Linked DNA regions of Homo sapiens: regions 1, 3, 4 and 5 are each linked to region 2. The links are contacts of gene promoters, found by promoter capture Hi-C in blood cells and fetal thymus (Javierre and others, 2016). All regions are on one chromosome and are shown on one strand. The core of a region is centred on a gene start or on the middle of the fragment in contact, and the rest is flanking DNA. Distances in the headings are between cores, read along the strand shown.

Region 1 (4,864 bases), core at 1,144-3,643, 4.3 Mb after region 2:
CTCACAAAAAAAAAAAAAAAAGAAAAAAGACAAAAAAAACCCCAGCTCACAGAACGCAATGCCAATGCCCACCTGGATGGCCTCTTTCCTGCCCTAGATGGGTTCCTTGGTCCCCTTCAGCACTCCATGGCCACTCTGCATACTGCCAGCTTCTTTGCTTCTGGCAGGGCTGGGTTTATATGTTGCCATCTAAGACAGGACTTCCCTGACTATCCTCCACAGCAGGTTTCCCTCTGTTTCTCTTTCCCAGTGCCCTGATCTCGTTTTTTTCTTCATTGCATGTGTCACCATTTTTATTTTATTCATTTTGTTTATGTCATTGTATTTTTCACCATCTCCTCCACCACACTGTAAGTTACACAGAGGTAGGGACCATGTTTATCCAGTTTATCGTTTTAACTCCAGCACCTGTCACAGAGTCTAGTGAGTAACAGATCAATAAACATTAAGTCACAAAGGGCACATATTATAGAAAATGCACAAACAACTGTACTCTCAGCTCTCAGTTATTCCTAACTACAAAAACAAACAAACAAACAAAAACTATGATTTTAGCCCCTAACCCTTGAAGCTTCAAATCTATAAAATGGTGACTCCAGTCACATCTTCAACACAGGCAGCACATCATTTACTATTTCCTGACTACAAGTGGGAGGTGTCACAGTGTACTAGGGTAAAACAAAGTAGCAGAAAAGGCAAAAATCACCAGATACTATTTTTTCAAGAATAATCAGCACCCTGGCCTGCATAAGATTAATGTTCCCTATAGCAGTATCACACTTTGTATGAAAGAAGAGGCCACTTGGCCCCAAAGGTATTATGTTAATGCCTAATATCATGAAAACATGATTCACTTAGTTCAAAGAGGTAGAGAAATCCTAGGTAAATCAGTTGATTTTCTGTGTGGCATCCTGTCTAATGAGATAAAATTCAAAGGTTAGCTTTACAGTGAAAGCAAATCTTAGATTTCAAGAAACACCTGTGTTAGTCCAGATCTTTTATTTTTTTATTTTATTTTATTTATTTTTGAAATGGAGTCTCAGTCTGTCTCCCAGGCTGGAGTGCAGTAGCGTGATCTCAGCTCACTGCAACCTCTGCCTCCCAGGTTCAAGTGATTCTCCTGCCTCAGCCTCCCAAGTAGCTGGAATTACAGGCATGCACCACCACGCCCAGCTAATTTTTTGTATTTTTAGTAGAGACGGGGTTTCACCATGTTGGCAAGGCTGGTTTTGAACTACTGACCTCAAGTGATCCACCTGCCTCGGCCTCCCAAAATGCTAGGATTACGGCACCAGCCACCATGCCTGGCCTTTTAAATTTATTTTATTTTATTTTATTTTTCGAAGATGAGCCAGACTCAAGGCTTCAGCTTTGAATGTTTATCTGAGAGGTGCACAGCCAGAATGGTGAGGTGAGGAAAAGACAAAGTGAAGCAAAGGAACATGAGACAATACACTGTGTGTTACAATACGCCACAGTCATCTGCAAATTACAGACAGCCTTTCAACCAGCCTATCCTCATGCAGGACTCTGGAGCAGTCCACAGCAGAATGAAAGGAGGGAGAGGTGTATTTGCCCAGCTCCTTCTGAGGTAGGAAGTGGGACTTGACTTTGGAGGCAGGGTTCAGACACAAGAACAGATTGAGAACTAGCCAAAAAAGGGAAAAGGTGAAGGCACTTCTTCTTAAGACACACCCACTGGTGTGCCATGTCAGTTTACCATTGCCATGGCACTCAGAAGTTACTGCCCCTTTCCCTGGCAAAGACCTGATGACCCAGAAATTACCACCCTTTTTCTAGAAATTTCTGCATAATTCTTCCCTTGGTTTGCATACAATTAAAAGTAGGTGTAAATATGCCTGCAGAACTGCCTCTGAGCTGTTACTCTGGGCACATTACCTATGGGGGAGCCCTGCTCTGCAAGGAGCAGTCCCTCTGCTACTGCTGTACACTGTTGCTTCAATAAAAGGTACCGTCTAACACCACTGGTTTGTCCTTGAATTTCTTCCTGGGTGAAGCTAAGAACCCTCCCAGGCTAAGCCCCAATCTGGGGGGATCACCTGTCCCCCATCACTTCTATGTTCCATTTCTCATTGTTCAAAGGTCACTCCTTTGAACAATGTAGGAGTTAGAGGACTAACTCCTACACTTGCGGATTTTGTCATCTGGCCTCACGGTGGCCAGGTGAGAAGCTAACACCCATATCACTTCATGTTCCGTCATCTGTTCTGAAAATGCAGAGGTGACTCAGCATGAGCAAGCCACCAGCTGAGAGACAAAGGAGATAGGGGTCAGGGGAATGCAGCAAGCCCATCTGCAATCTTAAATTGTCTCTCTAATTTCCTTAACTGGAGACAATCCCAGTTAAATTTTAGCACTTCCAGAATAAGTTACCTCCTTCTTTTAGGAAGTTCTAACTTATCTTCAGCCACAGTCTGACTCCCAATGACTGTGTTGTTATTACTACCACTTACAGTGTTTTTACGGAGCACCAGGCAATGGACCGAGCACGCTACAAATGTTATCTCATTTTTTTTTTACAATAACCCTATGAGGTTAGTATGAGTTTCCTTAGAACAAAGATGAAGAAATGAAGCTGAAAGAAATTGACTACCATGTCCAACCTCCCATAACTACTGAGGAGTGAGCTGGCATGTGAGTTTGAGCTGCTGGACTCCAGGTTCAGGCTTAACCACCTTGGTGGACTGACCCCTTCACAACCCATTCATCAGGATTGTTCCTCCCGGTGATACAAAACCTTAATCTCTCATCAAAGTATAATTCTTCAAGTACTAGAGGCTGCTGTCACACCCTAAGCCATGACTCCACTGTCCACTCTTTATTTGTATTTGTCTTGGTCAAGCCACATCAGTCCTATAAAGGTTCTTGGAGATCATCTCTTTATACAGCCATTTCCTAACTTGGAGTGCAAATGAGGAGACTATAAAAAGACCTCCTCCATTCTCCATTTTAATTTGATCTTTCTCCAAGTAACATCACACACACACACACACACACACACACACACACACACACACACTCTTAAATCTTTTCTCACAGCATCTGGTACTAGAATCTGATATGAAGGAATTTATAGCTGCACTCCACAGCTTGTTTTTCACATTTAGGAGTGTTTTTGTTTTCCAGCAGAATTATCAAGTGTTACTATATTAAATGTATTTACAGTGTTTCTATTTTGTTTCCAGAAAATTATAATTTCTCAAGGACTTTGTGAAAATTAATTGCCAAAGCCTGGAAAAAGAAAACTAAGTTGCCGGGCGCGGTGGCTCACGCCTGTAATCCCAGCACTTTGGGAGGCTGAGGCGGGTGGATCATGAGGTCAGGAGATTGAGACCATCCTGGCTAACAAGGTGAAACCCCGTCTCTACTAAAAATACAAAAAATTAGCCGGGCGCAGTGGCAGGCGCCTGTAGTCCCAGCTACTCGGGAGGCTGAGGCAGGAGAATGGCGTGAACCCGGGAAGCGGAGCTTGCAGTGAGCCGAGATTGCGCCACTGCAGTCCGCAGTCTGGCCTGGGTGACAGAGCGAGACTCCGTCTCAAAAAAAAAAAAAAGAAAACTAAGGCCAGGCGTGGTGGCTCATGACTGTAATACCAGCACTTTGGGAGGCTAAAGCAGGTGGATCACCTGGGGTCAGGAGTTCAAGACCAGCCTGACCAACATGGTGAAACCCCATCTCTACTAAAAATACAAAAAAAAAAAAAATTAGCCAGGTGTGGTGGTGCGCACCTGTAATCCCAGCTGCTTGGGAGGCTGAGGAAAGAGAATCGCTTGAACCCGGGAGGCCGAGATTGCAGAGAGGCGAGATCACACCATTGCACTCCAGCCTGGGGGACAGAGCAAAACTCCATCTCAAAAAAAAAAGAAAGAAAGAAAGAAAATTAATGCCAGAATAATATTTGCTACTCTGTAATCTTTATTTCAAAAGTTCTAAATTCTATATGGTCATAATCCTTATCAATCAAATCTCTAATAGTCACAGAATATTAAATCACTCGAAGTAGAGATTACATTTTAGAATAGAGAAGTACAGAGAATAGTTGGGATACAGATTTGTACAAACTTTGCTTTGGATCATAGCTTTGCAACTTTTACTAGCTGAACGATCTTGGGAAAATTACTTCAATTATTTAAGCCTTGTTTCTGGTAAATTAAGGGTAATGGTTTCTATCTTAGAGGATATAAGGAAGCTTGACATAGGATAACAATAGTTTCAGACTCATTTTTTTTTTTTTTTTTTTTTTTGAGACAGAGTCTCACTCTGTTGCCCATGCTGGAGTGCAGTGGTGTGATCTCGGCCCACTGCAACCTCTGCCTCCCGGGTTCAAGTAATTCTTCTGTCTCAGCCTCCTGAGTAGCTGGGATTACAGGTGTGTGCCACCACGCCTGGTGACTCATCTTTAATAGTCAATAAATGGTCTGAGTATTTTTGACAATGGCTATTCTTACCATAAATTCATAATGTGGAAGTAAACAAGCTTTGTAGTCTTCAAGATAACTGATTAATATCTTTGCTTTATCACATTCAACCCTCAAACACTTTCCACCATACTTAGTGGCTCTATGCAGTTTTTTTTTTCAGGCAAATTAATGTCAATATCTCAATATGGCTGCATATTCAAAGATGGGAATACAAGTACAAAGAGAATACCTTGCAATATATTAATATGTTAAAAAATACCCCACGATATATTAATTTTTTAAAAATTCTGAAATGAATACATTTGGGAAACAATGAATATGCTAGTCCCCTTGAAAATCCACATGTTCACTGGAATAATAAAGACTCAGAAAATCCTTAAAGAATCTGTTTAAATTTGTTTTAACCTATGTTTTCTGAAATT
Region 2 (5,482 bases), core at 920-3,419:
CCAGCCCAAGCGACAGCAGTGGAAGACGCCGTCTCAAAAAAAAAAAAAAGAGACACCCAGCCCAGTTCTACTATGGGAAAGATCAGGACGTCCAGGCCAAAGGAGACCAGCCTTTGCAAAAAAAAGAATGGAAAAGGGTTTGGTTATTCTGGTGTCCATTAAGTAATCACTGAATAATAATTTTATGATTTTCATTGAACAATACAAGAAAATAACCAGCCAACAGTAACATCTTGGCAAAAAAGAAATCAAGATGCTGTTCAATTATATCTACAAGCTTCTTCCTCTCCTGAAGACAATTTTTTTCCACACTTCCCTTCTTCCTAAGAGAGATGATGATAGTAAATAAATTCACAGCTTTCTTTTTTACACCTATCCTATGATGTGAGAACACAGAACTCTTCATACACCTTAGATTTAATAATCTCAACAAGGATCAGACAACCTTGCATTAAATTTAAGTTTCGTGCCTTACATGAAAGTATCCTACTCTATATTTTATTGTCAGTCAGAAATTCTTCAAAAATAATACCTAGGTAACATCACATATACCCAGTTCGAGTTTGGTGCATGAGTTTCTTCACATTTCATTTCCTTTTCCTTCCGGATTCTAAATACAAGGCACTCTAAGTTTGGATTTCCGAAAGTCCCCTCCTTTGCATGAGTTCCTCGTGTATTAACTGGAATTGAAGAGGAAATGTCAATTTACAGTGAGGAGCGGGGCTGAATTACAACATCGAGTGCTCCGCTAAAGGGGCCTTGTCTATTACTTTTTGAATGTACTAAATAAATGTTACAAGGCTCTACTACTTGCAGAGCATAACCAGAAAGAAAAACCAAGCAAAGATATGAAGGAGGGGCCACAAAACCATAGCACATTCAGGGGATAACTCTAAAATCCACTCCAAAGGGCAAACTGCTTAATAAAGCAGTTCCTGATTTCCCATCCAGTGGTTCACGTCCCCCCTCTCTAAGTAGCTTTGAAAGGGCAGGGGGAAGGAAACGTTTCTGAACACGTTCATGCCCACACGCCCCGTGGTCGGAGCCCAGGCAGGGTCCGCGGCTCTGCTAAACCCGGAAGCTGCACACGCCGTGCCGTTAACCCACTGCCAGGTGCAAAGTGGAAGGGGGCAAGAAGTCAAGGGTGGCCTGCCGGAGGTGGGCGCGCAGGGCAAGGAGAAACGAAGGGCGAACCCGAGGCCTCGCCGCCTTCCGCGGTGTAGCCCGTCAGCATCTGATCCTGGACGGCGCGCACAGGTGAACACACCTTGCTGTGCCGAGACCATGCCGAGAGAGACAAGGGGCGAGGAAAACGCAGGGAACTGGGGGTGGGGCCGGTAACTGCGCTTCAGAGGCTACACAGGAGAGTGGAAGAAGAGCTGGGGTTGCCCGGACTAGGCAGAGGTCATCTTCCTCGCCCCCGGAGCGAACAGACCCGTGTGGCGGGAGGAAGAGCAACGGGAAGAGGTCCGCGCTGCGGCGAAGCCTGGCGGGAGCGCCTCCGCGCCGCAGAAGTGCATTCGGGCCCCGCTACGGCCCAAGGGCACCCCTCTCTCCCCGCTTTTCTGCGGCCGCTTCGGAGGTAGGGCGGGGGAACCACTCACCTCCGGCCTCCGCTTCGCCAGCACCCAGGCCGTCTCCAGCTCCAAACACGTCAATGGCTCACGCAGCAGGACCTTAAGTAGCGCGCATCCCAACTTGCTGCCCCCGCTCCCCGGCGGCAGCCCGCCCAATCGGCGCGCGCCGCCGCCAGACTGACAGCCGCGCGGGGCCCTGGGCCGCAGGGGCGGTCGGGCCTCGCCCCGCCCCCGCCTGGCGAAAGGAGGGCCGAGGCGGGAGGAGTGGGCGGGGCGGTGAGCGCGACCCCGCCCCCTCTTCCCCCGCCCCACCGCGCCCCCCAGCCGCGGCCCGTCTCTTAACACTTCGGCTTGACGGGCGGCGTCGCGGCCCAATGGGCGGGCCAACTCCCGCCAGCGGCGGCTCCGAGTGGCCAGCTCTCGGGCGGAGCGCGCGCGGGGGGCGGGCGCAGCGGCGGGCGGGGTTTGGGGGCGGGCCGACGGGAGGCGGGGGCGGTGGCCGAACAGGCAGGGGGAGGCAGCGGTGGGCGCGACGTCGGCGGCGGCGGCGGCGGCGGCGGCGGCAGCTGCAAGTTGGGCTGCAGGGGCAGCGCATACACTACAATGGCTGCTGGAAAGAGGCGTAAGGAAACAATTTCCAGGCCCGCCGCGTCCAGCCCGAAATATGAGAAAAAAATTATTAGAAATTCCGCGGGCGGTGTAGAGGCGGCGGACGGGCCGGAGGGAGGATGTTAAAGCCCCGCGGTGAGTTCTCCGGGGGTCCGGGGCGGCGGCGAGGCGTTTAGCGGGAGAAATATCAGGGTTATTTAAATTATGGGACTAGCCGAGGGGGCAGAGGAGCAGCGGCGGCGGCAGGAGGAGGAAAAGTTTGTGCTACTCTCAGCCCCTGCTCAGGACCCCAGAGAGAAAAATAATAATAAAAAATAAAATAAAATAATTACGCGGGGCTGCGAGGACTCCCGAAGTCGCTTCTGACAGGGCAGGGGGCGATGCGGCTGGGGACCCGAAGGTGAGGTCGGTGGGAAAAAAAAAAAAACCTTTATTCAGGGTCTGGAAAGTTTGAAAAGTTTTCCTCCTCCTCCTCCTCCTCCTCCTCTCTGGTGCTGTGAATATTGTGACAGCGGCAGCGGCAGCAGCGAGAGCGGAAGACATTAGAGACCCGAAAAATAAGGGAAAAATTAATATAAATTCAGTTTTGAGAGTAAACTCTCCGCATTTTCCACCAAAACATCCCGGGGGAAGGTCGCTTCCCAAAGGGCCTGGCGGAAACCCGCAGTCGGCAATATTTGGGGGGCACTTTGAGTGACTTGGGGTAACTTTGCCCCTTTTTCAAAAGAGGTTTTTCTTTTCTGGAGAAATGAATTTGTTTTTGCCCTTTCCTCAGGTGGGCAAGCCGGGGTCGGGGTGCGGGGTCTGCAGGGAGGTGTGAGCCCGGGGTGTGTGGCTGCGAGGGGGGGTAGGGGGAGGGGGTGCTAAATGAAAGCAGGAGATCGGCACAGAGCAGGGACAGCTTGTTGTCAGTATCATAAACAACCAAAATGGAGGGAGAACTCAGGCATATAACCAAATAAAAATTTTTAAAAAATCGCAAAAAATCCCTAAAAATCCGGGATGCTCCCCCTTTTCTCGCTAAAGGTAAAAGTATGTACCGCCTTTCCCCTGAAGTCCATTTTGACTTTGCAGGGACCAAGGAGTTAATATTTATTTATTTTTTAAAACTTTCGAAGGGCAAAAGCCTTTTATAACTCAACCGACAATGAGAAAACGTGAAAATCCGATGCAAGAGAAGCAGGGGGAGCGAGGGGGGAGGTGGTAGTGCAGAAACTGCTAAACTTATTGGTAATGTGGACTGATCTCAGATAAGATAAACACTATATTTGCTATTTTATAACTCTCTTTTAATGATCTTTGCGGGGTTTTTTTGGGTGGAAAAAAAAGTGATGCCATTTTCTTAATAGAGTTAATATGTGTGATTGGAAGAATGAACCTTTCCGGCTTTAGATTGCATTTTCGTCGCATTTATGCTTCAGGTTTTGTTAGTGGCTCCCTCCTTTCTTTAAACTGGGCTCTGCAGAGGAGGGATAGAGAGGTGATGGTGCTCAGAGAGGCTGGAGTGCAAGGCTGGAGTACCTTTTGGGGAGGGATGTGGAGTTGCTTGGTTTCCCCCTTCCTGACATGTTTGCTTCACCTGTTCATCCTTCCTAAAGAATGTTAAGCTGAGGTTTTCTGGTTTTATGTGTATAAAAGGATGATGTCTCTTGCATCACATTGATGTTAATGGGAAAGTGCTGCTGATGTTGGTTCCACGTGGGATATGGGACAGAGCAGGGCATTTTAAAGGGACAGCTTCTCTTTTCTTATGGTTTTCATCACCTACACAGAATCACTGTCTGAGGACCAAAAGCAGAGGTGCTGGGAGGGTGTGGTGATGGAAGAGCCTTCCCTTTCTGTTACTCCAGTGCACCCACCCATAGGAGTGATGGAGGGACAGGAGGGATAAACAGCCTCAACCGAAGATGGATATGTGTATAGTTTGTATCCAAACTGTTCCTTTGTGTAACAAGCCCTCCCAGGAACTTTTCATGTTACATTGCTTTGCTTTGGAAGCTGATTTTGGAAGGAATTGTGGAAAAATGGAAATAGTTTAAGGTGTGTGGTGTAATGGTATAGCATTATTGAACAGTTATGAATTCTGTGCAGTGAGATCAAAGAGCTGTGTATGCCCATAATGTGATTTTACAGCCATTTTGTAAAAACTGTAAAATACCTTAATATTCAATTTGGCTTAAGGTACATTGAGGACTTCTGGTTGAAAATTACAGAGTGGTGAAGATTCTTTAAAATTGTAAGCAGTAGGCATTTCTTTAGGGGGAAGGAAAGCACACACACCAACACCATGGAAAAGTTTACACATCCATTTTTAAAGTCCATCCTATGCATGGGTTGTAACTTTGCGCCTTTGAAATGAAAAGATTTTTAAAATCCTGAGCCCTGTGAGTTTTCATTTTCTAAGTTGAATTTATTTGTGTTATTTAACAGAAAGTGTTTACTGACCATAAACTACTATCGGCTCTTATGTTTTAGATTTCCACGATATTTTCAAAATTTAAAATGTGTAAATTGTTAGCTGTACTATAATGGGGATTAAGGTTAATCTTCAGTAGAAATTACTTGTGTTCCATTTTCCACAGGTATATGGAGTTTCTGAAATAAATCCTTATTTCCTCTTGTTTTTATTATTTATAGACATGGATTAAAATTAGAGCTGAATTTTTAGACTTCTTATATAGAATGTTTTTTCTTGCCCTACTGTATAAACAAGTTATTATTTTTGTAGTCTATTGTATGTTAACTTGTGTTTACAACTGAGTTCTTCCAACTTTCTGTAAATACCTCTATACAACATCACATCAGTAACGTGTTTGAGTACATCATCTTGTGGTTTCTGATTTTGGAAGCAATTACAACTTTCTAAGAACTCATTAAAAGATTAATCTCATCACCCACAGTTAAATCAAAATTGATTGGAAAAGGATTAAGCTATCAATAGAGAAGGGAAACTCCTCCATGCCCAATGATCTTCTGTCCAGAGGTTTCAGAATGCCATTAAGACTTACAAAGCCTTTTCATTTTATCTTACGTTTTCATTGTATTTTGGCTCAAGACAGTTACATTGACTATAAGTAGTCAGAATTATGCTGTGCATTTAAAATAAATGAGACTTAGATCTTGAATAATTGCCACTTTGACAAACCAGATACTAATATCAATAAATTCAATCTCTATAAAAAAATGAAGGAATTCAAGTTATATTAGATTATCGTGTTATTCAGGTTGTTTGGACACTATGACTGGTTTATTGTCAATCTAAATAAAAGTGCTGGTATTGTGATTTTTTTTCTTCC
Region 3 (5,144 bases), core at 220-2,719, 3.5 Mb after region 2:
TGTGTTCTATTCAGCTGGAAAGCATCTTGAAGATATTTGTATTCCAGGCACCTAGCAGTGTCTGGCTTATGTTTAGATGCCCCCAAAATAGTGGATGAATAATGAATGTGTCCAGTTTTGAAGGTCAGAGATTGTCATTGGGGTGTCCCCCTTTCACCTTATCATATAAGGAAGCGAATTCTGTTTTGTTTGTTTGTTTTTGTTTTTTAAGGCAGAGTCTTACTTTGTCGCCCAGGCAGGCGACAGGCAATGGTGTGATCTAGGCTCACTACAACCACTGCCTCGTGGGCTCAGATGATCCTCCCACTTCAGCCTCCCAGTAGGTGGGATTACAGGCATGCACTACCACTGCCAACTAATTCTTGTATTCTTAGTAGAGACGGGGTTTCACCATGTTTCCCAGGCTGGTCTTGAACTCCTGGCCTGAAGTGAGCCACCCACCTCGGCCTCCCAAAGTGCTGGGATTACAGGCAGGAGCCACTGTGTCTGGCCTAATTCTAAGTTTTGACTGTATTAGAATAGTTGACAGTAAGGCTGGGATAATTGACTTTATCATCATGATAATCTCTCGAGAAAATTGTAAATCTCCACTTGATAAGTTGGATAGATTTTAATGAGTATGTGAGATACTTTCTGGTTCTTTTCCTCAAATATGGATATATATGGGTTCAGTTGTTATTCCTGTACATCTGGAAACAAATGCAGTGGGATCAATATATTTTTATTTTTATTTATTTTTTTGAGATGGAGTTTCACTCTTGTTGCCCAGGCTGGAGTGCAATGGCATGATCTCAGCTGACCGCAACCTCTGACTCCCGGGTTCAAGCGAGTCTCCTGCCTCAGCCTCCTGAGTAGCTGGGATTACAGGCATGTGCTACCACACTCAGATAATTTTGTGTTTTTAGTAGAAATGGGGTTTATCCATGTTGGTCAGGCTGGTCTCAAACTCGCGACCTCAGGTGATCTGTCCGCCTCTGCCTCCCAAAGTGCTGGGTGGCATATAAAGTGGACTAAAAGCTTCAGAGAGAAAAGATGATTAGAAATAATTTTGCCTGATCCCTAGTTCTGTAAACTGCAGTTATTAGCAATTCTCCCTCATTGAGGGGTCACGGGCTACTACCGCATCAATGGAGATAATGTCCACCACCCTGTCGGATCAATATTTTTTAAAATACAGCTCTCTTCTCCCCTTCATTTATAGCTGACTGTATCCTAGGAGGATTTAGGAGGACCAGATGTCCTCATAATGAGAGATAGGTTTTTCCCCCCAGATAAGAGAATTCCTGCTACCTTATATTAACTACTTAAGAGTTCTGTAAATTCAGAGAAAGGAGAAAGAATACTATAGGCCACCTGTGATAAGGGAAGACTTCCCAGAAGTGGTAATAGGACAATACTTGGACTTTTGTTTGTTTGTTTGTTTGTTTGTTTTTGAGACGAGTCTCGCTCTGTTGCCCAGGCTGGAGTGCAGTGGTGTGATCTCAACTTACTGCAAGCTCCGCCTCCTGGGTTCACGCCATTCTCCCACCTCAGCCTCCCAAGCAGCTGGGACTACAGGCATCCGCCACCATGCCCGGCTAATTTTTTTGTATTTTTAGCAGAGACGGGGTTTCACTGTGTTAGCCAGGATGGTCTCGATCTCCTTACCTTGTGATCCACCCGCCTCAGCCTCCCAAAGTGCTGGGATTACAGGCGTGAGCCAGTGTGCCCGGCAATACTTTGACTTTTAAAGATGAGTAAAATTCAGATCAGCAAAGATGGGGGTATTTTACCTGGCAGGAGTATGTAAAGTGAGGGTATAGGTTTGTCATGTAAGGGAGTAGTTGATGATACTGCTACAAAAATAAACTGGGGTTAATTATGAAGTTCTTGAGTGCTGGAGTTTAATTAAAGTCATAATTGCCACCATTTTTAAAGCTTTTAGTATATTCCTAGCACCGTAAAGGACTCTGAAGTACATTATTGCTATCCTTCTCATCTCTGTGAAAGGTATCGTTGCAATTTATAGATTGTCAACTGATATGTGGAGGTTACCTGAGCCTCAGTGAGATAGATGGTATTCAAATACAAGTAAATTTTGTTCCTAAGTCTGCCATTTTTATGTTAATCTAGCCTATATCAAGTTGGCAAATTCACATGCTAAGAGGGGTGGGCAGATAGTACAATTAAGTGAAACTGTCTGAGTACTGAACCGGAGGTGACAAAGAGAGTGTAGCTGTAAAGAAACTACAGATTTGTGCCCTGCTGTAGGCAACAGTAAGGTGCTAGGGAAGATACTTGAGGGAAGCAGCCTGACTACCTTGGTTGTAACTGGTAGGGAGTATTTAGGAAGGATTGAAGCCGGATAGAGATTTAAAGACAGAGAGAAGAGGTTGCAGTTTCCTAAGTAAGGGTTATGTCATTGGAAAATGAGGGGTTGGATTAGAAAGGAAAAAAATGGGTAGGACTTGGACAGAAATAACTGAAGCCTGGTCCATTGTCACTTTGGAAAGTTTGTAAAAAAAAAAAAAAAAAAAGAAAGAAAGAAAAAGAAAAGAAAAATAACTGAAGTTTGGGGCAATAGTAGAATGATAGTTCATTGACAGTGAATAAATTAGGGAATAGATTTAAAGGAAAAGCACCGAATTTAAATTTGGACATGTTGAGTTTGAGGTAACAGTAGGATTTCCAGCTGGAAATATGAAGCATCAGTTACTGCTAGCTCTAAACTCAGAACAGAGATCTGGATTAGTTAATAACAGTAATTGATGTTTGTATTTCACTTTATGGTTTACATAACTTCCATATATGTATAGATTATTCGTTAGATCCTGACCACAACCCTGTGAGACAGGTACTTTTACTTTTTGTAATCAAATGAAAAAACTTGTTAGGTGAAGTCAGTTCAGGTCACATTGGGCCAGGACTTGAATATACTTCTTTTGATTCCAAATCTCATGTTCTTTTCACAGTTCTGTTCTCCCTCTTATGTTTACATAAAGATAACAATTGGGGCGTGGTGACTCATGCCTGTATTCCCAGAACTTTGGGAGGCTGAGGCAGACAGATCACTTGGGGTCAGGAGTTTGAGACCAGCCTGGCCAGCATGGCGAAACCCTGTCTCTACTAAAAATACAAAAAAAATTAGCTGGGTGTGGTGGTGGGTGCCTATAATCCCAGCTACTCTGGAGGCTGAGGAGAGAGAATCTCTCTCTCTCTTTTTTTTTTTTTTTTGAAACAGAGGGAGTCTCGTTCTGTAGCCCAGGCTAGAGTGCAGTGGCGAGATCTCGGCTTACTGCAAGCTCCGCCTCCTGGGTTCACGCCATTCTCCTGCCTCAGCCTCCCGAGTAGCTGGGACTACAGGTGCCTGCCACCACGCCCGGCTAATTTTTTGTATTTTTAGTAGAGACGGGGTTTCACTGTGTTAGCCAGGATGGTCTCAATCTCCTGACCTCATGATCCGCCTGCCTCGGCCTCCCAAAGGAGAATCTCTTGAACCTGGGAGGCGGAGGCTACAACGAGCTGAAGGCTGCAGTGAGCGGAGATCGCACCACTGCACCCAGCCCCTAGGTGACTGAGTGAAAGTCCATCTCAAAAAAAAAAAAAAAGATAACAGTTGGAAGACTAAACATGAATGACCATTTAGGGAAGGCTATATTTAGAATGGGAGTGGGGCAGAACTCCCCTAGGACCTCAGATTGGGACTGAAATAGGGAAGGCTGGTGGGAATCTTTGTCTTGCTCTCTTGGTGGGACTAACTCTTTTGGTGCAACAAATTCAGGTTCTTTATTTCTTTGTAATGTATAGGGTGTCATCTTTTTTTTTTAATGGATATGTGTTTTTCCCCTCTAATTATAAATGTGATTTTTAAAAGAACTGGGAGAAAGTAAAAGTCTGGCATCCAGAGATAGCCAGTGTTAAAAAGATTGCTATTAAATTGATCCAGACTTTTTAAGTGCTTGCATATACATATGTCCTCCTGCATTAGTTGTAAAAATAAAATCCACAAACAGAATCACATAATATATACTGTAAATTGCTTTTTGTACTGATCAATACGTATAGATCAAAACATTTTTAAATGTCTAAAATTTGATACCTTATAGGGTTGTGTAATAATTTATTATTTTTTTGGAGAGAGGATCTTGCTGGGTCACCCAGCCTGGAGTGTAGTGATGCCATCATAGCTCACTGTAGCCTCCAGCTCCCAGGCTCAAGCAAGCCATATCCTCCTGCCTCAACCTTCTGAGTAGCTAGGACTATAGGCATAATTTATTTAACCAACCTCCATTGATAGTTTTTAAATTCATCATTTTAAAAAGTGATGGTATAATGAAAATCATTGCATATATATACCTTTGTACACTTGTTTCATTCTTTGCTCCCAGAAGTAGAATTGCTGGTTTGTACATTTTAAATTTTGATACATAGTGCCAGATTAAATTCCCTTAAAAGTTATACCAGTTTATATTTTTGTCAGAAATGTGCCAGTGGACCCACTGTTAATCTTGTCAACACTTAGCACTCATTTTAATCATTAGTAGTAATCTGAAGGGTAAAAAGTAGTACCTTGTTGATGTTTTAGTTCTCATTAGTGAATATGTACCTCCAGATAGTTTATTTTTCTTCATGCTATGGATAGCCATTTGTCATAATACCATTGCATGAAAAGTTGATCCTTTCTCCCCAATTTGAAATCCCACCATTATTGTATAGATACACAAGTGCAGGTATGCATGTATAAAGATCAATTTGGATCTGTTCAGTTTCATGCATTATGTTTATTAATGCATCATGATTCCTACTAACTTGTTAACTACCGTGTGAGTTATGAGTATGTTTGACATGTTTTGACAGTTGTTCTGTCCTACGAAGTCTCAGTATATATGGTAGGCAGTTTATAGTAATTCTTAGTGGGTAGAAACTAAAGACTGTTTAAGCAGAGGGTCAAATAATTTAAGAAAATCTTGTGTCAGTTGTTGAGTTACTAACCTGTTACTTTTAATTTAGAATTGGCTTGTGTTAACTTGTATAGTATTAAATATGGTTTCATTTTATAAAAGTTAAGAAGGACTTTATATAAAATGAGCATCAAGTCAGATTTTAGGAAATCGTGACTATTTGGTGAAAAGTAATACTTATGTACTAGGCTTATTTATATAAGG
Region 4 (5,377 bases), core at 114-2,613, 3.6 Mb after region 2:
TTTTAATACTAATGGGATTTTTCATCTGCTTCTTGGAGAAACCTTTTTTTAATGCTAAGGATTAAGTTGAAAGTAGATAAGATTAATACTTAGAAGTTATAATTAGAAGTTAATGAGTTATTAATTAGAAGTTAAACTAATCATTAACCAGTGTTTGTTCATTTCTTCTTACATTGTCCTATTCTCATCTCTAGCACTTTGTCAGCAACCCCTAAGAGGTTAGTAAGTCTTGAGGAAAATGAGTATGAGTTCAGGAATATGTAGATTTGTTCGTGTAAGCGCTTTTCAGTTTTAGCTTTGTGTTACCTACTTGCTAGCAGAAATGAACCAAAGACTATTTTATGGAAATTAAAGCATTTCAACATATGCAATCTTTAGGTGTTTCTTTTTTCCTAAGTCATTGTGTAAATTTCATGTATAGGAATAGCAAAACTGACATTTGAAGTTGAGTTTACCTATCTCTTATGTGTATAGTCCCTTACCAGAAAATACTTTTTCCTTATGTTGCCCAGGCAGGATTTGAACTTCTGGGCTCAAGCAGTTCTCCTACCTCAGCATGCACCACTGTGCTTGGCTGTTGTTTTTTTTTGTTGTTTGTTTGTTTGTTTGTTTAAGAGACGGGGTCTCACTTTGTTGCCAGGCTGATCTCAAACTCTTGGACTCAAGTGATCCTCCCGCCTGGGCCTCCCAAAGTGCTAGGATTACAGGTGTGAGCCACAGAGCTCGGCCAAAGAATAAAAGAATGGCTACTCCATGGGCAGAGCAGCCTCTTGATTTTTATGTATGTTGATATAAGCAAATTATCTGGAATTTATCTGCTATACTGATAAAAATCAGTAAACCTTGTTAGTGTCAGCATCTAATCTGTATTAAACTTTTACTTATTTCCCTTTACTTTTTAGATTCAAAGAGAGGGTTCACACAGATATCTTTCATGCTACATTATTGAGCTTAAGGAAGATAAATTTCCCAAATATGATATTTGGTATATTTGTGTGTCTGTAATTTTTTTTTTAATTTAATGCTGTATTTAATTTGTAAGTCCTGCCATTGACTCTACCAGAGGAGATTCTTCAAGCTTAGTTGCTGAACTTCAAGAAAAGCTTCAGGAAGAAAAAGCTAAGTTTCTAGAACAACTTGAAGAGCAAGAAAAAAGAAAGAATGAAGAAATGCAAAATGTTCGAACATCTTTGATTGCGGAACAACAGGTCTGTATCTCTTTTCCCATTTCATTTGAGAACTAAAGAAGGTAGACATAAATTAACAAATATAATTTCTTTATGTAGCTGAGGGTTTCTTATATCTTAGATGTGATGTTCCTTACATTGATCCTGTTAATAAATTTCCTCTTGACAAAAGCGTGTATTTTTAAGAATTTTTTTTAGTTTTTTTACTCATCTGGAGAATAATATTTTTCATGTTAACATGTCACATGACAATACCAGGTGCTTCAAAATGAGATAGTCTTAGATTAGAAGCGAGGGAATGTAAATTCTGTTCCTGGTTTCTTCGCTACCTATGTGATCTTGGGTAGATCATTTAACCTCTTGAGAACTAAGATTAGTTTTCTATGAAATGATGTTTTTAATTTAAAAAATGATTTTATTTTTTCTCTAAGCTTCAAATTCTCTAAACTTTGTTATCCTAAATTACATTCAGATCAACATAAATATCTTACCCTTTCTGTAATTCTTATCCTTCTGATAGGCTGGTGGTAGATTAAGATGGAATATTATTGAATTTTGTTAATGTACTTACTGTTGTTGGTCAATAGTAAGAGGTAGTGCTTGTGAAGTATATTGGGGTTAGATAAAAAACCAGATGCCTTGTTAGAGAGCTTGTACTTTACCTAAAGTACCGGACAGCAACTAATTACAATGGCATAATTAGATTTATGCTTAATGAAGATCACCCACTGGAACATGGAGAAAGATTGGAGAACTGCAAAGCAGTCAGCTGGAAGAGCAATTTGGTAGCTACTGCTAGAATTCAGGCCAGGGATAATATTGCAGTTTGGGGTATACATTTTGAGGGATACATTTCTGAAACTGCATATTTATGGTTATTGTACACATGTAATATTATGTGGTATTTTTCCTTTTCCTAAAATGTTATGATTAATTAGTGTCTTTGTGGAATTTGAAAAAATGTAAATCAGAGAACAGAAAGAAAATAAAGTATAGTTGAAACCTCTAACAATTTTAGATTTTTAAGGCCTAGGGAAAGAAAGAAGAGCCTGGGAAAAGGGAATGAGAAAAGCACAACCAGAAAAAAAAGTGTGTGGCTTAAGGGAAGCCAAGGAAAGTTAAGTGTTCAGGGAGGAGGAATAGCCAAGTTTTAAGTAAGAATTAACAATGAGGAGGTCAGTAGTAACCTCTCTCTAAGAATCTGGATTTATAGATTCTTCTCTATGATTCATTCTGCATATTGATCTCTTTATCTCCTTGTGTTGCATTGTCTCTTTGTGTGTTCTCTTATAAGCACATGTACAATTTCTAAAATTAAGTAAAGAATGAATTAACTGAAACCAAAAGTATAGTATTGACAGCTGTCTAATTTACTTCTTCATGTTTTGATGTCTCTTTTAATATTTATAAAATAAGAGTGGGAGAAATGACTTCTAAGGTACCTTCCAATTTTCCATGATGTGTATGTTAAGTTGTATTTATTTAAGGTTATTTGTACCTAGCTCTGTATAGGTGATTTCTGAGTTGGAACTAATTGGTTCTTAACTAGCCCCCTTTTTTCATATGCCAATTACAAATTGTGATCTTCCTAAAAATTCATTTCAAATTACAGAAATGGCAAAAATCATGAAAATAAACATAATGGTTTATATGTTTTTGTGTTTATTTTCTATATATAAATAAAATACATAGAGATGGCTTAATACAAAGCCATATCATAAATGTTTCTTTTTGAGAGATCTTCCTGTATGCTTTGTGGCCAGAAATTGTATTTAATTAAATATTTAATGAATTTATTAAAATTTTATTAAAAATGCTGTATTACTTTTCCTAAATCTCCCTATTGCCAGCATTGTTAGCATTATTCATTGATCCAAGGACCGTAGAGCTCTTAAAATTTTGGAATTAGAAATGCTGGGCAGATGAGAAGAGTCAGTTTAGATCATTTCATCATTCATCTATTGCTTTTACATTTCAAGAAGCTCAAAAATCTTGTAAGTAAATTTTTTTTTTTTTTTTTTTTTTTGCCTCTTAGAGACAGGGTCTTACTCTGTCATTCAGGCTGGAATTCAGTGGTGCAATCATGGCATGCTATAACCTGGAACTCCTGGGCTCAAGCAGTCCTCCCTCCTTAGCCTCCCGAATGGCTGGGACTACAGGCATGTGCCACCACACCCAGATAATTTTTGTAGAGACTCGATCTTGTGTTGCTCAGGCTGGTCTCAAACTCCTGGGCTCAAGCAGTCCTCCCACCTCAGTCTCCCAAAGTGCTGAGATTACAGGCATGAGCCACCAAGTCCGGCCTAAGCAAAATTTTTATACAGATTCAGTCATCTTTATTAAAGAAACTGTGCAGTTAAAATTGCCAGATTGTCTCATGAGATCCATGCAGGCAGTTGGATATGTGAGCTTCATAGTAGAGTTTATAAAAGTGGGGGAGTAATAAGTCTAGCCAATATAAATCAGCATTCCAGTGACCATTGCAGATATCCAAATAAGAGAAATAAGGAAGATAGAGTCATATCTAAAATGTTAGGGTGGTGATCAAATGCTAAAGACAAAAGGAAGGTTTCAGAGGCAGGATGATTACTCCAGGAAAAAAGTAAGTGTCTAACAGCACTCTAAGTTATTGATGCTTCTAATTCTTCAAAATTTCAAAATCTCTGACAGTAAATATATGGACAATAATAAGAAAATAGGATTTGCTTTCAAGAGACTTAAATTGGAACCAAGAAAGTAGAACCTTTGCCACAGTATGTTACATTTTCATTTTTAAAACATTTCATGAATCATACCCCATCATCTCCATGTACAAATGTGCCACAGAAAAGAATATTTGCAAGTGTATTTTCTAAGTCCTAGCTGCTAAGTACATGTAGATAAATTTAAATAATTATTCTCTTGTTCCAGACCAATTTTAACACTGTTTTAACAAGAGAGAAAATGAGAAAAGAAAACATAATAAATGATCTTAGTGATAAGTTGAAAAGTACAATGCAGCAACAAGAACGGGATAAAGGTTTGTACTGTTTTGTACTATTTTTTTTAATTTTTTAAAGTGGAAAAGATACATTCATGCAAAGTGGTTTTTTTAATTACATGATACTTTTTTAAATTTGGGTGTCCTTCAGATTTGATAGAGTCACTTTCTGAAGATCGAGCTCGTTTGCTTGAGGAAAAGAAAAAGCTTGAAGAAGAAGTCAGTAAGTTGCGTAGTAGCAGTTTTGTTCCTTCACCATATGTAGCTACAGCCCCAGAACTTTATGGAGCTTGTGCACCTGAACTCCCAGGTGAATCAGATAGATCCGCTGTGGAAACAGCAGATGAAGGAAGAGTGGATTCAGCAATGGAGACAAGCATGATGTCTGTACAGTAAGTATGGCTGTTTTCAACTGTTTTTAAGGCTGTTGCAATTCCATGAGTTATAAAGCTCTGAAGAGAGGAAATATTTTTAGCATTACTGGTTGTCCACAGCCCATGTATCTGAAAGTTGTGCTATTTTAATTCTTTAAACTGTAAGTGTGAGAAAACATTACTGAATGAATTATTTTGGGGTACTCTCATACTATACAAAGTATGTGCACCAGAATTATCCCATACTGCCAAGATAAGGATCATGGCAGTAGTATTGAGCCATTCTTATTTACAGGGAATGTTGACATTTTGGGGTCCATTACCTATAAAGGGGTTATTGTAGTAATGAATATATTCATTTTGGTGAGGAAAAGCAGGGAAGGGTTTTTTATTATTATTATTATTATTTGTTTATTCATATATAGCAAATGTTTACTGCATTACATTGAAATCGTGGCAGAGCTTACTGGAATTTAGAACTTTCTTACCAGTTCTCCTTTGAATATAGTGAAAGACCACTAAAATTGTGCTTACAATTATATCTATGGGAGAGACAGAATTGGGAGGAGAAAGTGCTCCTCTCCAAAGGACGTTGCAAGTAGAGTTTGCATTTCTAGTTGCACCTCTGGGATTTCAGATATGGGAACTGAGATTCCAAGGGCAGAAAGTCCAGATCATTATGCCACACAAAGAATTATGCCCAGTGGGTCAGTGAACACTACACCCCCATGTGAGATGAAGTAATTCGAACAAGTGATTACCAAAAGATATCATAGAATCAGCGTGGTCCCCTCGTTCAAACAGATCCAGGTTCAAGTCCTGAGTCTAGCACCTGC
Region 5 (5,557 bases), core at 662-3,161, 4.3 Mb before region 2:
GAACAACAGAGTAAACCGTTTATTTATACTTTTTCATGAACTTTGAATCATTTTTTAGAAACTGAATGTTTTCCTGCCTGTGAAAACTCTTATATCCAAATACTACAGCAGCTATTATCATTATGAATAACATTGTATATTATGCATCATTTTGCATTTTAAGTTAAGTTTAACAAAAGTTACACTAAATGGGGGTGGTGAAAGTACTGCCATTAGCCAAGCAAGTTTAAGGTACAAACCAGGAGGGAAGCTTCACTATCATTTGATTCCCCAAAAGTACCTTTTCTGATACTACAGTTTAGTAATCTTTATTAGAAGAACTGCAGCCTTATGTAATTTTGAAATCTTATCTTGAAGTTTTCATTACCAGACTTACTGAAGAACATTTTTTGCTCTTAGTATATGGGTATTTTAATTTTCTTGATACTGTATCTGATACAAATTATAATACGAAAGTGTCCGTTTGAAAGAGCAGAGTATTCAGCATTGACACACTATACTTTTTGTTGATTTTTCCTTTAGAAAAATCAATTATAGACAAAAACCTCTTTAGAACTAGATCCTTCTTCCTCTCCTTGAATTAACTGCATGCATTTCTGAAAGGTTCTTCTTTCACTTTACCTCAAAAGACACTGAATCCAAACACCAGTGGTGAGATTGTCTGATCTGAACTCTGAGATAAGCTATTTTGCTTTAAAAAAACAAAAAACAGACAGGTTATTGAATTACTAATTGAAATACAAAAACTAAATTACTTACCTTTCCTTTCTTGGAAACAAGCAGAGATGAGGAAGTATACGTGTAACATGGTTTGTTATAAGTGACCCAGTAGATAGGAAATTGAAAGTGGACTCAGTTTACAGGGATCCTTCAAGTAGTGTTAATTCACTCAAGAAAATTTTAAAGTTATTTAAGTAAATAACAATTTAATGATTTATTTAATGTAATCATATGAAAAAGAACATTTGAGACCTGTCATTCAGATGCCAGGCCCTTTGCCAAGTGCTATAGATAAAGAGAGAGGTAGACTTACCATGAACCTAATGAAGCTTAATTTCAGGGCCCCTAATTTGCAGAAACATCTTTTAATGCAAATGTGTTCACATGATCAGTTTTCTATTTTTGCAAATAAAAAGTTGCTAAAGTAAGATATTTAAACCTTAATCAGTGAATTCTATTGTCTCTCTTTAGTCTTCACTTCCATCTGTGACACTTGCCCTTGTGTTGAGAGGTGTTAGAGAATATTCACAGATCTTTTTTTTTGGTACTGGTTAAGGAAGAGTATTGTTGAAGATACACTTAGTTTTGTAAGATATATTAATTTGATCACTTGCACGTGTAGTTGAATTATTGCAAAGAATTGTCCAGTATAGAAATGGCTTCCAGAGACACTGCAATCTCTACTGTGCTGATTCACACTGCATCATATGATATAGAGGTTGTATCTTAATTTAGCATGGTCCTACTGGATTTGCTTTTTATTACTAAATTACTAAATAACCTTAGAGACTAAAGACAATACAGCATTGTGAGATAATTAGGGGGTATTGTCTTTAGCCTCTAGGGTTGTGGTAAATCTGGGCATCGTCTCACTGGATTCTCGACTCAGGATCTCATAAGGCTAAACTCAAGGTGTTGGCTTGGTTGCATCCTCATCTGGCATTCAGAGTTCCTTTCCAAGCTTACATAGTGTGGCCAGATTCATCTCCTTGTAGTCATTATTTCCTTGTTGGCTCTTACCTGGGAGCTGCTCTCAGCAACTAGAGGCCACTTGAACGACTTACCACGTGACCTACTCTATTTCCAGAGCTGGCAATAGAGAATCTCTCTCATTTTTAATCCTTCATGCTTTGAATCTCTTTGTCAGGAAGGGTGCTGTTCCCTTTAAGGACTCAACTGATAAGATCTGGCCCATCCAGGATCATCTTTCTATCTTAAGGCCAACTGATTTGGAACATTATTCACATCTACAAAATCCCTTCACAGCAGCACCTAAATTAGTGTTTCAACAACTGGAAAAGCATATGTGTATGCCAGGGTGCAAAAATCTTGGGAGTCATCTTATATTTCTACCTACCACACCTGCTGTGCCCAGCATGGAAAGTATATGGGTTAATGAGTTTTACCTATTATAAAGCTTTTCAACTCAGAATGTATATTTTCAAAGACCTGGAAGGAACATTCAAACATAAAGGAAATGAAAACATTTTCCAAAAGCTCACACAGCTAGAATACACCATTTTAGTGGCAATGTTTCTATTAAAACTAGTAAGAATTTATAGACTCCTCATTTATTTATGAAAAACCTGGATATGCTTATTTATTAGAACAAAGAGTTCATAAGAAGTTAACAGCATGTGCAATGAAAGCAATAAAGATGAATAATAAAATGAATAAAAGCTAGGTACAGTGGTGTATCTTGCCTGTAATCCCAGCACTTAGGGAAGCTGAGATGGGAGGATTGCTTGAGCCCAGGAATTTGAAATCAGCATGGGCAACAAAGTGAGACCTTGTCTCTACAATAATAATAATAAAAAAGTTAGCAGGCCACTATGGCATGTGCTTGTAGTCCCAGCAACTTGGGGAGCTGTGGTGAGAGGATTGCTTGAGCCCAGGAGAATGAGACTGGCTGCAGTGAGCCATGTTCCTGCCACTTCACTTTAGCCTGGGTGACAGAGCAAGACCTTGTCTAAAAAAAAAAGACTCAGTGGCTTTCTTGAACTCAGAAGAAAGGGGCCCCTGCCCTGAACCCTGCGTTTTAGAGTACCTTGCCCATCACAAATGTAAAAGCACAAACATACTTGTTTTTGTTTCTGACCTCATGGTTGCAGGAAGCTGGCTGAGAACAGGAGAGAATGGCTTGGGGGAAAAAAAAGCTCTTTCAAGTTGGCCACCCCAAATCACCCAGATGGGTGTCCAGGCAAATCAGGGCCTCTAGACACTTGCTCTTCTTTTCCTCTTCTACTTGGCTGGTATTGTTTTGAGAGGTGAATTTCTAGGAGGGCAAGATTTTTGTGTGTGTGTGAAACAAGAGAAAGGTTATCTGCTTAACCTAGCTCCCTGAGGAACTTAATCAAGTCACTCCCATTCTGGCATTTGGGTGGGTCCAGGCAGCACCCAAGAGTCCAGGACCTCACCAGGTCCAGCTCAATGACAGACTTTGTATGGAAGAACTGGGAAGGAGAAAAAAGTAAGCATGATTCCTGTTTATTTTGCCTGATGAACAAAGTAATGCAATTAATTGAGGTAGGAGACCAGGTATGTGGGAAAAAGGAGAGTGAATCAAAGATTCTGTTTTGGACATGTTGAATTGAGATGCCAGTAGACTTCTAAGTGATCTCACATGAGCGATTGGACATTTGAATCTGGAGCTTGGGGGAGTGGCCTGAGCTTGAGATAGAAATACTACATAGCTGGCATAATTGTGGGGGCCAAATGTTTTTTTCAACTATGTGCTAGACATTTGTAGTTCCTCTATTGTAGATAACATGCTTGTGTCCTTTACCTATGTATCTATTGAATCTCTCACAGTTATTCTTAAAATTTCCTAAAAGTTTAATGCAATAAAAAATGTTTAACAAACTACCTTAAATCATCTAATTTTTACAGCAAGCCTGGTACAGCTTTTTAAATTTTTGACTAATGAGAGTTGTGACCTCCACAGACAAATTTAAAAATCATCAGCATATAACAAATAAGAAAAACATATTTGTCGTCCACAAGGAAATGATGTATGCTTTATGTTCACAAAGCAAGGCTATATTGTGTCTCCCAAGGGGGCTCACAGGCTGGTATGTATAGTAAATCAGGCTTAGAAACCTGATTTCTCTGTATATCAAGAGTGAATTCATCTTTCAGGAATGGACTTACATTAACCTAGTTTATGAGTCTGATTTTTAAAAGCAGAAGGTCAAATTGCAATGAGAAATCATTGTCCCAGAGACAGGGATATTTTAAATTTGTGCAACTAGCTTTTTGTTATCCTGGACAAAGAATAATGTCTATGGAATATTTAATGACCTTAAGCTAAGAGAACATGAGTCACCCATCTCACTTTTGGGATGAGAAAAACATTAATCCCAATACCTTTAATCAGCTCATTCGCTCACTTACTTCATCAGCCCTAACCACACCCTGTTATCTCCCTCTGAACAGCGCCATTTATCTCTTTGGCCTCTGCAGCATTTATAATCCTGGCCTAATGGCTTTGCCCAAGTATCAAATATTTTGATGAATGAAAAACTCCCATGAATCATGTTTAAAACAAGTTTTTTTTTGTGGTTGAAGTTCTTGAGATCTAAACCATGAATCATGTTTTAATAGAGAATACTGCTTTTTATCTCTGAGACCTTCCTTTTTTGAGGGTTTAAGGCTGACTAACCCCACTTGTGATAACAGTCATTTTAGATACTTTAACAAATTCAATCAAATTACCATCCAGTTCTGGCCCTGGGATCCAATCTGGATCTTCAGGTCACTCCCATAATTTTATTTGGCAGTATATTAAGCCTCCAGCTTCATTAGTTACTGACCATATGACCTGGCCATGCCATTGATTCCATCTGTATTTCAGTTTCTTAATCTGTAAAATGGGAAAAAGAATATCAAAGTGATAGGATTACTGTGCAGTGCCGAGGTTGTGGGAAGCACATGGATCATTCCATGTGGCAGGGAAATCCCCTTCAAGGGGCAGCTCACCAATTGCTGGGTAAGTTCCTGAACCCATCATTGGCAGGAGGCACGGTATTCTGTGTGAACTGGCCATTCTCAGGCTGAGCACTTCCATGCAAGTGTATGCTGGGCATTTTGAGTTGTTAGAGTGATGGCAAGTGGAGGTCAGGGATGCTAAACATCCTAAGATGCACCTGAGAGCCCTGCAGAGCAAATAACTGGTCAGCCCCAAGTGCCAGTTGCACCTGCTGCTAAGAAGTACTACTGGAGGGCCAGGCATCGTGGCTCATGCCTGTAATCCTGGCACTTTGGGAGGCCAAGGCGGGCAGATTGCTCAAGCTCAGGAGTTTGAGACCAGCCCGGGCAACATGGTGAAACCTCGTCTCTACAAAAAAATTCAAAAGTTAGCCGGGCATGGTGGCACACGCCTCTAGTCTCAGCTATTTGGGAGGCTGAAGCACGAGAATTGCTTGAGCCTGGGAGGCTGAGATCGTGCCACTGCACTCCAGCCTGGGCAACAGAGAGAGACTGTCTCAAAAAAAAAAAAAAAAAGACTGCTGTAGGCAAGAGACTGACCCTTGAAGCTCACTGGCTGCATGGGAGGATATGGGTGTTGAAAAACATCTGGAAGAAAGGGGGAAAAGGGAGCAGAGAAGGCAACCAACAACAGCTATTATAGATGCAGATTTTGGAGGCAGACAGCCTGGGATTTAAAACTTTGCTCTACTACTTTCGAGCCATGTGATCAAGCTAATGAAACTTTAAAAACCTTACTTTCTTTAATAAGTAAAAAATGAAAAATAATACCTGCTCTTGAGATTGCTAAGATTAATGAAAGAATGTATGAGTCTGTCAAATGTCCTGGTCCACAGAAGGGACTCAATGT

The links. The method cuts DNA at HindIII sites, captures the fragments that hold promoters and counts their contacts. A CHiCAGO score of 5 or more calls a contact.
Region 1: a fragment that was not itself captured here is called in contact with the fragment with the promoter of PLAG1 in region 2 in 1 of 17 cell types (naive CD8 T cells); the score reaches 7.8 in naive CD8 T cells.
Region 3: a fragment that was not itself captured here is called in contact with the fragment with the promoter of PLAG1 in region 2 in 4 of 17 cell types (non-activated CD4 T cells, total CD4 T cells, activated CD4 T cells and 1 more); the score reaches 10.0 in non-activated CD4 T cells.
Region 4: a fragment that was not itself captured here is called in contact with the fragment with the promoter of PLAG1 in region 2 in 1 of 17 cell types (naive CD8 T cells); the score reaches 5.4 in naive CD8 T cells.
Region 5: a fragment that was not itself captured here is called in contact with the fragment with the promoter of PLAG1 in region 2 in 2 of 17 cell types (non-activated CD4 T cells and neutrophils); the score reaches 6.2 in non-activated CD4 T cells.

Annotation. Positions count from the first base shown.
Region 1 is chr8:51,955,409-51,960,272 of GRCh38, reverse strand. No RefSeq gene overlaps it. Among named protein-coding and RNA genes, the nearest start is that of PCMTD1-DT, 59 kb to the right of the region's middle. The HindIII fragment of the contact is 3,639 bases long and covers 574-4,212 here.
Region 2 is chr8:56,207,960-56,213,441 of GRCh38, reverse strand. It overlaps PLAG1 (PLAG1 zinc finger), which reads left to right and starts at 2,169. Exons shown (of 5, transcript NM_002655.3): 1 at 2,169-2,321. It overlaps CHCHD7 (coiled-coil-helix-coiled-coil-helix domain containing 7), which reads right to left and starts at 1,653. Exons shown (of 4, transcript NM_001011671.3): 1 at 1,605-1,653. RefSeq lists an enhancer at 1,475-1,544 and silencers at 1,557-1,782, 1,625-2,184. The HindIII fragment of the contact is 9,849 bases long and covers 280-5,482 here.
Region 3 is chr8:52,704,805-52,709,948 of GRCh38, reverse strand. All of the region lies in intron 1 of RB1CC1 (RB1 inducible coiled-coil 1), which reads left to right. Among named protein-coding and RNA genes, the nearest start is that of RB1CC1, 7.1 kb to the left of the region's middle. RefSeq lists silencers at 2,089-2,248, 2,259-2,308. The HindIII fragment of the contact is 900 bases long and covers 1,020-1,919 here.
Region 4 is chr8:52,641,533-52,646,909 of GRCh38, reverse strand. RB1CC1 (RB1 inducible coiled-coil 1) reads left to right here. Exons shown (of 24, transcript NM_014781.5): 16 at 1,043-1,208; 17 at 4,098-4,206; 18 at 4,319-4,559. Among named protein-coding and RNA genes, the nearest start is that of RB1CC1, 70 kb to the left of the region's middle. The HindIII fragment of the contact is 515 bases long and covers 1,106-1,620 here.
Region 5 is chr8:60,501,830-60,507,386 of GRCh38, reverse strand. All of the region lies in intron 1 of LOC124901949 (a long non-coding RNA gene), which reads right to left. Among named protein-coding and RNA genes, the nearest start is that of RAB2A, 12 kb to the left of the region's middle. The HindIII fragment of the contact is 456 bases long and covers 1,684-2,139 here.